2 separate regions of the Homo sapiens genome follow, and region 2 is linked to region 1. The links are contacts of gene promoters, found by promoter capture Hi-C in human tissues and cell types (Jung and others, 2019). All regions are on one chromosome and are shown on one strand. The core of a region is centred on a gene start or on the middle of the fragment in contact, and the rest is flanking DNA. Distances in the headings are between cores, read along the strand shown. Region 1 holds the start of CRAT (carnitine O-acetyltransferase). Region 2 holds the start of TOR1B (torsin family 1 member B).

The links. The method cuts DNA at HindIII sites, captures the fragments that hold promoters and counts their contacts. A contact is called where the count stands out against the background at its distance.
Region 2: the fragment with the promoter of TOR1B here is called in contact with the fragment with the promoter of CRAT in region 1 in 6 of the 25 tissues and cell types used here (H1 embryonic stem cells, aorta, dorsolateral prefrontal cortex and 3 more).

Annotation. Positions count from the first base shown.
Region 1 is chr9:129,108,914-129,113,641 of GRCh38, forward strand. It overlaps CRAT (carnitine O-acetyltransferase), which reads right to left and starts at 1,880. Exons shown (of 14, transcript NM_000755.5): 1 at 1,570-1,880. The coding sequence starts at 1,596. It overlaps PTPA (protein phosphatase 2 phosphatase activator), which reads left to right and starts at 2,502. Exons shown (of 10, transcript NM_178000.3): 1 at 2,502-2,718. The coding sequence starts at 2,688. RefSeq lists silencers at 1,636-2,075, 2,766-2,815 and enhancers at 2,486-2,765, 2,698-3,238. The HindIII fragment of the contact is 22,449 bases long and covers 1-4,728 here.
Region 2 is chr9:129,800,527-129,805,254 of GRCh38, forward strand. It overlaps TOR1B (torsin family 1 member B), which reads left to right and starts at 2,658. Exons shown (of 5, transcript NM_014506.3): 1 at 2,658-2,885; 2 at 3,547-3,812. The coding sequence starts at 2,687. RefSeq lists silencers at 2,738-2,867, 2,928-3,047. The HindIII fragment of the contact is 20,911 bases long and covers 1-4,728 here.

The sequences.
Region 1 (4,728 bases), core at 630-3,129:
AAGACAAGAGCCAAGATTCAGCGGGAGGCAGGTGGCAGTGGCGATGGCTGTGGTGGAATCGGGGGTTGTGGCAGTGGCAGGGGAAGCTCCTGGACTCTAGAAGCTGCTCCACCCTCCCGAGCTCCCAGAAGTAGAGGAATGGGGAGCAGGTGAGAGGGCTAGTGGGGGGGCATTCCAGTAGAAGGGAACCTGGAAAGTTCTTTCCTTTCTTCTCTGCATGGGCTCAGTGCCAGGGAGTCAGGACAAAAGGTAATAAAAAATCCACCTGTCAGAATCTGCGAAGATCGTTTTGATGAGGGAAAACTTGGCTGGAGGACAGAGACTGCCTGGCCGCTGAGGTTACACCACAGCCCTGGGATCGGTCCTGAAATTAGGGTTGGTGCAAGGGAGCAGACACCAGGAAAAGGCCATCAGTGGATGGGACAGCCAGAAGCCCTGCCTATTTCCTGTTTCTCTCCAGGACTCCTGGGACCCATCTGAGCCATCCCTCTACGAACACTCATTTTTTCCTGAGCTGTGGCTCATTCAGCTAGGGTCCAAGAGCGGAGGACTTTTGGTATGAAAAATAAACCAAAGGACACTGGGATTGGGCTGGATTTGAATGAGCAGGTCCAGGGGACTCTGGGCAAGTCCCTCCTTGCCTCAGTTTCCCTGCAGGAAGGTAACCAGTCCAGTCGGATGGTCCTGGAGGATGATCTAGAGGCTGTTTGTGGGATGGATGCAGCTTGGGAGACAGTGACAAGGGTGCGGTGGAGGCTCAGGGTGTTGCAACACCTAAAAGAGCCTCTAGGCCTGAGCCTGGATGCACCCTCCGCCCTCTGGCCCCGTAGTGTGTGTCTGAGACAGAGTGAGACACCAGCAACATATGCTTGGATCAGGGACGGAAGGGACTGAAATTAGGCTAGCATCCGGGCTGCTCACCGGGGAGGACTGAGGGGTAGATATAGCCAGGGTGGGGAAGGGGGCTAGAGGGGAGGATATAGCCAGGGTGGGGAAGGGGGCTGGAGGGAAGGATACAGCCAGGGTGGGGAAGGGGGCTGGAGGGGAGGGAGACCATGGGGCTGCCACCTGCCAGTTCTGAGGCCTTTCTAGCTTGATGCCTCCGCGTGTTTCTCTGGCCACACACAATTCCCCAGGGACCGTCTGATAAACCAAAGGAGTGTGACCAACTGGACAGGGTCGGAGGAGTGGCTCTGGCCTAAGCGTGCGACGGGTGTGTCAATCGGAGAATAACTGGGAGAGTGAGCTAGGGTCTGGATGCTCCTGGTCTCTCTCCCCTACCGGCCTGTCTCTGGGTCTAAGGGTGGGGGTGCTAACTGAAGCCGGGGTCCCCCTTGTCTTTCCTGGGTCGTTGGAACTGAATGCTCCAGGACGTGGGTTTAATCCCGCTTCTGACCTTGCGCCCCAATCTCCTGCTCTGCCAAACCTGGGACGCCCGCCTGACCCCACCCCATCAGCTGGAGGCCGGGTCGAACAGCGGCCGCAGGACGCGGTCTCCGTTCCCGGACGCAACCGCACGGCCCGCCCAGGCCGTCCAGGGCCCTCAGGCCCGGGATCCGCCGCACTCACCACGGTCCTGGCAGCGAAGGCTAACATCTTCGCTGCCCGTCCGCGGACACGCAGTCCGCTCCGCCCCACACACCGGGCAAAGTCCGCGCCGCCGCCGCCGCGGCTGGGGTCGGTGGGTCCTTGCTAGAGCCTTCGGGCCAAGGTCGCTGAGTTACAGCCGCCAGCCGGTAGAGGCAGCCCCGCGCCCACCCTCTGGGCCGAGCGGGCTGCGGGAAGGCACCCGGGGAGGAGGACTCGCGAGGCGGGGCCTGGGCCGGTAGCGGGCCCCGGGCGGGCAACGGTGCCCGGGAGGTTGGCTGTGGGGCGGGGACGGGGCATCGATGGGGCGGAGTCTCCTTGAGGAGGGACAGGAGGGGCGGGGACGGAGGGGCGGGGCGTCGCCCGGTAGCGGGTCGCAGTAGGCTGGCTGCGAGTCGGGGGCGGGACCACGGCGGGCGGGGACAGAGGGGCAGGGCCGAGGGCGAGTCATTGAGACCTGTGGAGGAGGAAGGAGGAGGTCACCGTCCAGCTGTCTCTCCCCTGTCCCCACATGTCTTCTAAGCTGTTGGAGGTAGTGGTGTGCACCTTTCCAACTCCGTCTGGTGTCCTTGAGCCTAACTCTTAGAGTGATAGGAAAACACAACCATGTTGACCGGGGAATGTCCTCTAATATTCCTTGGGTTAGGGTCAGTACCACCCACAAAGATGACAGGTGGTACTCCGGGACAGGAGACTGTCCCGGAAAAACATGGCTGAGCACAACCCAAACTTGACGCCCCGCACAATCGTGGCAGTCGCGGCGCCCGACGTTCGGGCGGCCGTGAGCGGTCCTAGCGCTTGGCGGCCGTTGGCGCGCATGCGCCCCGCGCGCCCCGCACTGACATGGCCGTCGCCCGGTTCCGCGCGTCCGCCGCGCGCCGGCCGTTAATAGGCTTGCTCCCTGAGCGCCCCGCACCGACATGGCGGCCGTCTTCGCTGTGGTGACTTTAACTCTCGGTTTTCGGTTATAGCCGGCCGGCGCTCACTTGTCTTCAGGAAGCTCGGAGCCTTTGGTGGAGCCGGGGAGAGGAAGGGTGGGTGCAAGAGTGAAAGGCGAGAGGGGACTGCAAGCATCCGGGTCGGCTCCTGGCCGGAGCAAGATGGCTGAGGGCGAGCGGCAGCCGCCGCCAGGTAAGGCCGGCGGGGCCAGGCCGGGCCGGGGTCGGGTAGGGTGGGGGCGGTGCCAGGTGTGGGAGGCTCAGGAGGGCGAGAGTCATGACACGGAGGAACTGGAGGGGCAAAAGCTGAGGGGCCCCGAGGAGGGACTGAGTTGAATGGCCTTAGGGGAGAGGTGGGTGGTGGGGCGCCGCTGGGGAGGGAACCAGGGGCTGCAAAGGGGTGGTGATTGGGGCGCAACTCTGGGTTTTGTGGGAGTCCAGGCTGCCCGAATGCTGGGTGGGCAGCGCCGTGGTCATAAGGGGGCCTTTTGCATCTCTGGGCAGCGCGTGCTTAAGTAAGCTGCTGACTCGGTGGGGAAGCTGCCAGGGAGGGGGGCGAAAGTGATTCCGGAGGCTGCCGTCTTTATTAGTCGCTGCTTAGGGGATGGGGTGGTGCTCCGTGGGCCTGCGCCCGCCTCGCCTCCAGTTTCGGCCTCCGCGTCCTGCTCACCCCTCATCCTCCTACTCTCTGGTTCCAGTGCCTGAGAATTTATTGAGGGAAACTGCCCGTGGTGTCTAAATCCCTAATTTTAAAAGGCTGGTTGTGCAAGGAGGTTAGTCTCTCCGGCATCTCCTTCGGTAACTCTTATTTACCTTGTAGCCTCTTTTTAGTTCATCTTAAATAACTGGGATGGAGGTGCTACGGAAGGATCTTAGAGACCCTTTTTGTGCAGAAGGAGAAGGCTGTTTGCCGACCTACCTTGAACTAAGAAGGACTGGCCATAGATAACTTTTACATTCCCGACAGAGGCAAATAGGTTGGCCGACCAAACACAGCTAATGTTTTGAAAGCATTTGATATTCTTGCTATCCTGTCTCCAATGTTGGGGTCCCTGGGAAGGTCTCAGGAGGGAGAAATGTTGAAAATCAGAAAAGGCATCCCCTCCATGCCCCACAAAAGAGGTGAACAAAGAGCTGGGTTCCGTTTCTTAGGACATTCAAAACCAGACATTTATTTTGTACAAAACCTCTGGGTGTGTGCCCTTAGAACAAGGATGTCCAGGCCAGGCGCGGTGGCTCATGCCCGTAATCCCAGCACTTTGGGAGGCCGAGGCGGGCTGATCACCTGAGGTCGGGAGTTCGAGACCAGCCTGACCAACATGGAGAAACTCCGTCTCTTCTAAAAATACAAAATTAGCCGGGCGTGGTGACACACGCCCGTAATCCCAACTACTAGGGAGGATGAGGCAGGAGAATCGCTTGAACCTGGGAAGCAGAGGTTGCGGTGAGCTGAGATCGCGGCATTGCACTCCAGCCTGGACAACAAGAGTGAAACTCCGTCACCCCCCAAAAAAAAAACCGGGGTGTCCACTCTTTTGGCTTCTCTAAGCCACATTGGAAGCAGAATTGTCTTGGGTCACACATAAAATACACTAACACTAACGATGGCTGATGAGCTAAAAAAAAAGTCGCAAAAAAAAAAATCTCATAATGGTTTTGTGTTTCTTTTTTTTGAGACAGTGTCTCACTCTGTCCCCCAGGCTGAAGTGCAGTGGCATGGTCTCGGCTGACTGCACCCTCTGCCTCCCGGGTTCAAGCGATTCTCCTGCCTCAGCCTCCTGAGTAGCTGGGACTACAGGTGCGCCACCATGCCTGGCTAATTTTTGTATTTTTAATAGGGACAGGGTTTCACCATATTGGCCAGGCTGGTCTCGAACTCCTGACCTCGTGATCCTCCTGCCTCGGCCTTCCAAAGTGCTGGGATTACAGGCATGAGCCACCGTGCCTGGCCTATGTTTTAAGAAAGTTTACAAATTTGTGTCCGGCTACATTCAAAGCTGTCCTGGGCTGTGGGTTGAACAAGCTAGCCTTAGAAGTTCTGGTGATGACTCCGGGCACAGTGGCTCACACCTGTAATCCCAGCACTTTGGGAGGCCGACACAGGCGGATCACTTGAGGTCAGGAGTTCGAGACCAGCCATGGCCAACATGGCAAAACCCCGTCTGTATTCAAAATACAAAAATTAGCTGGGTGTGGTGGCACA
Region 2 (4,728 bases), core at 1,408-3,907, 690 kb after region 1:
AAAAAAAAAAATAGCTGGGCATCGTGATGCACACGTGTAATCCCAGCTACTCGGAGGCTGAGGCAGGAGAATTGCTTGAACCTAAGAGGCAGAGGCTGCAGTGAGCTGAGATCATGCCACTGCACTCTGCACTCCAGCCTGGGCAACAGAGTGAGCTGCTGTCTCAAAAAAAAAAAAAGTTTAAGCCACTTCCCACGGCCAACTTCTATTCTTTTTTTTTTTCTTCTTTTTTTTGAGACGGAGTCTTGCTCTGTCGCCCAGGCTGGAATGCAGTGGCGCAATCTTGGCTCACTGCAACCTCTGCCTCCTGGGTTCAAGCCATTTTCCTGTCTCAGCCTCCCGAGTACCTGGGATTACAGGCGCGCACCACCACACCTGGCTAATTTTTGTATTTTTTGTAGAGACGGGATTTCACCATGTTGGCCAGGCTGGTCTCGAACTCCTGACCTCAGGTGACCTGCCTGCCTCGGCCTCCCAAAGTCCTGGGATTACAGGCATGAGCCAGTGCACCTGGCCCTTCCATTCATTCTTTAGATCGCAACTGAGATAGGGAGGAGAAGATCCCTCCCCACCCACAGGCCTCTGTGCATCCTGCATTACAGCCTTGGCCCACCCTGGACATAAGCTGCCTGCTTGCTCATCTGTCTCCCTGACTAGTTACCTGGACCACGGCAACAGCCTCTTCACTGGCTCTCTGCCTTCCATTTCTTGTGAACCCAGCAGCCAGAATGATCTCTGATCTGACCATGTTGCTTCCTGTGTAAAACCCTCTGTGGCTCCCTATTACCCCCCAGAACAGAGGCCAAACTCCTTACAACATTCGCAAGGACTTCACCTTCCAGTCTCTGCCTGATTCTTCATCCCTATCTCTCACCACCTTCCGCCATGTGGAATCCTTTCAGTTCTCCAAACTGACTGTTGTTTTCTGCCTAAAACACTCTACTCATTTTTTGCCTGGCCTAACTCCCTCAGTGCCCAGCTTAGACAAAAGCCTTCCCTGTACCACTGTCCGATACTTCTCTGCCCACTCAGCATTGAGTCTCACCCCTTTGTCGGCCTCCCCCATAGACCGTCAGCTCTGAGAGGGCAGGGGCCAACTCCGTCCCCTCCTCTGCTGTCGTTCCTGGCATCCAGCAAGGGGCCTGCCACCTAGCGTGCTGAATGAAAGAATGGACCTCGGGATTTCAGTGTGGAAGCCTGGGCAGGTCTGTCTTGGGGCCGCTGCATCCCCAGTGCTCAGTCTAGGGCGCAGCACGGAGAGTTCGCAACTGTTTCAGGAAGAAGGCAGGCGGGTGGGCCGACCCAAGAAACGCACATTATACCTCCGGCGAAGTGAAGGGAGGGATAACAAAGCAAAGCTTGAGGGCTCCGAGAAGCTCTGAAGAAAACAAATCCAGCCATAAGCCCACTCCTGTAACCCCAGGCTTTGGAAGACGGAGGCAGGTAGATCGCTTGAGGTCAGGAGTTCGAGACCAGCTTGGGCCACATGGCGAAACCCCGTCTCTACTAAAAACACAAAAGTTGGCTGGGCGTGTTGGCGGGCACCTATAATCCCAGCTACTCCAGCAGCTGAGATGGGAGAATCGCTTGAACCTGGGAGGAAGAGTTTGCAGCGAGCCGAGATCCTGCCACTGCGCTCCAGCCGGGGCGACAGAGCCAGACCCTGTCCCCAATATACATATCAGATAAGAAAAAAATATAAGAAAGTTTAAAAAAATTTTTTTTGGCTTTTTTTTGTTTTTTTTGAGACGGAGTCTCGCTCTGTCGTCCAGGCTGGAGTGCAGTGGCACGATCTCGGCTCACTGCAAGCTCCGCCTCCCAGGTTCACGCCATTCTCCTGCCTCAGCCTCCCGAGTAGCTGGGACTACAGGCGCCCGCCACCATGCCCGGCTGATTTTTTCTATTTTTCGTAGTGATGGGATTTCACTGTGTTAGCCAGGATGGTCTTGATCTCCTGACCTCGTGATCCGCCTGCCTCGGCCTCCCAAAGTGCTGGGATTACAGGCGTGAGCCGCCGCGCCCGGCCAGCCTTTTTTTTTTTTTTTGAGACAGTTTCGCTCTTGTCGCCCAGGCTGGAGTGCAGTGGCACGATCTCGGCTAACTGCAACCTCCGCCTCCTGGGTTCAAGAGATTCTCCTGCCTCAACCTCCCGAGTAGCTGGGATTACAGGCGCCCGCCACCACACCCATCTAATTTTTTGTATTTTTAGTAGAGACGGGGTTTCGCCACGTTGAGCAGGCTGGTCTCGAACTCCTGACATCAGGTGATCCGCCCGCTTCAGCTTCCCAAAGTGCTGGGATTACAGGCGTGAGCCACGGCGCCCGGCCAAAAAAAAAAAATTTTTTTTTTTTTTTTTAGATATTTTTTCACTCTTGTTGCCCAGGCTGGAGTGCAATGGCGTGATCTCGGCTCGGCCTCCCAAAGTCCTGGGATTACAGGCGTGAGCCACCGCGCCCGGCCCGAAAAAATTTTTTTAAAAGAAAAGGGAAACAAAACAGTCTCCTACACCTTCGGACCACTCCCAAGAACGATGGCACCGCCCTCCTCTCCGCCCCTCACCAACATGGCCGCCCCCAAGGGAGTGGGCGGGTCTGCGGGGCGGAAGTGACGCACGAGAGGAAGTCCGTCCTGCCGCTTGGCCGCGGGGCGCCTGGCTCAGTGGCTTCTGCGGGCTTCGAGGAGCGGGATGTTGCGGGCTGGGTGGCTCCGGGGCGCGGCGGCGCTGGCGCTGCTGCTGGCGGCCCGAGTGGTGGCGGCGTTCGAGCCCATCACCGTGGGCCTAGCCATCGGGGCCGCGTCGGCCATCACCGGCTACCTGTCCTACAATGACATCTACTGCCGCTTCGCCGAGTGCTGCCGCGAGGAGCGGCCGCTCAACGCTTCGGGTACGGCGCGCGCGCGAGCTGTGGGTCGGCGCTGCGGGGGGCGCGGGGGCGCGGGGGCGCGGAGGGACGGCCTCGTGGGCGCCTGGCACGGACCGGGCCCGTGGCATCTAGACGGCGGTGGTCCCAGCTGGGGTGGGCGGGGAGCGGATGGGGCGGCCCCGGAACCGTTCGCGGGAACGCAGAAGCGGTGCCTTCGCAAACAGTCTCCAGATCGTGGGGCTGCCCCAGCGCCTTTCTAAAGCTCCCGTTCCTTGGGATCACAGGTGGAAGAAACGGAAAGTAGGCGGGCGGCCCTTCTGCGCCCTGCCAACCCTATTAAGTAGTTTTCAGACGTGCTGCGTCGCCCAGAAAGCCCACATTTGGCCCCTGGTTTTCCTGCAGGTCAGCAAGGGTGGCTGGGATTAGCAAGCGCTCAGTCAAGCGATGGTTCATCTCTGAATGAATGAACATTTAGCTTCCTTATCAGACCCCGAAGCGTTAAGGACCTCCACATAATCTTGAAAGTGGCATCGTTTGACTGCCTCGGCCCTAGGGTGTGGCAGACACCCTGCTGTGTCCCTGGATAATCTGTGCTTCTTGCTTTGGCCAGCTAAGAAAGTGCTGCGTTGCTGATGCATTTTTAAGGTCTGTTTCTCTCTTTGTTCTGGGGCTGTTCTTGCAGCTCTCAAGCTGGATTTGGAGGAGAAGCTGTTTGGACAGCATCTAGCCACGGAAGTGATTTTCAAGGCGCTGACTGGCTTCAGGAACAACAAAAATCCCAAGAAACCACTGACCCTTTCCTTACACGGCTGGGCTGGCACAGGCAAGAATTTTGTCAGTCAAATTGTGGCTGAAAATCTTCACCCAAAAGGTCTGAAGAGTAACTTTGTCCACCTGTTTGTATCGACTCTGCACTTCCCTCATGAGCAGAAGATAAAACTGTACCAGGCAAGAGAACCCGCTATTATCTCGTCTGCAGGCCAGTCGGACTGGTCCGGGTGACCTGCTCACTAACTCTGGCCTCTGCTTCTCTTTCCTTTGTGTTGCTGTAGCCCCCGGCTCCACTGAGTTAAGGCACACTTAGTCCAGGTAGTTACAAAGCTCTCCTACAACATTTCTCTTACTTGGTTCCAAAACAGTCCAGTGGGGTAGGGGATGTTATTTCCATTAAAAGATGGGGAGCCAAGGGCCTGGCGCCGTGGCTCACGCCTGTAATCCCAGCATTTTGGGGAAGCCGAGGCGGGCGGATCATTTGAGGCCAGGAGTTTGAGACCAGCCTGGCCAACATGGTGAAACCCCATCTCTACCTAAAAGTACCAAAATTACCTGAGCACGGTGGCACGCACCTGTAATCCCAGCTACTTGGGAGGCTGAGGCAGGAGAATCGCTTGAACCTGGGTGGCAGAGGTTGCAGTGAGCTGAGATCGCGCCACCGTACTCGGTCTCAAAAAAAAAAAAAAAAAAAAGGCCTGGCACAGTGGCTCACGCCTGTAATCCCAGCACTTTCGGAGGCCGAGGGGGGCGGATCACGAGGTCAGGAGATGGAGACCATCCTGGCTAACACGGTGAGACCCCGTCTCTACTAAAAATACAAAAAATTAGCCGGGGATGGTGGCGGGCACCTGTTGTCCCAGCTACTCGGGAGGCTGAGGCAGGAGAATGGCCTGAACCCGGGAGGCGGAGCTTGCACTGAGCCGAGATCGCGCCACTGCACTCCAGCCTGGGCGACACAGTGAGACTCTGTCTCAGAAAAAAAAAAAAAAAAGAGAGATGTAGTCAGGGCCAGGTGCAGTGGCTCACGCCTGTAATCCCAGCACTTTGGGATCCGCCAAGGCGGGCGGATCACCTGAGGTCGGGAGTTCGA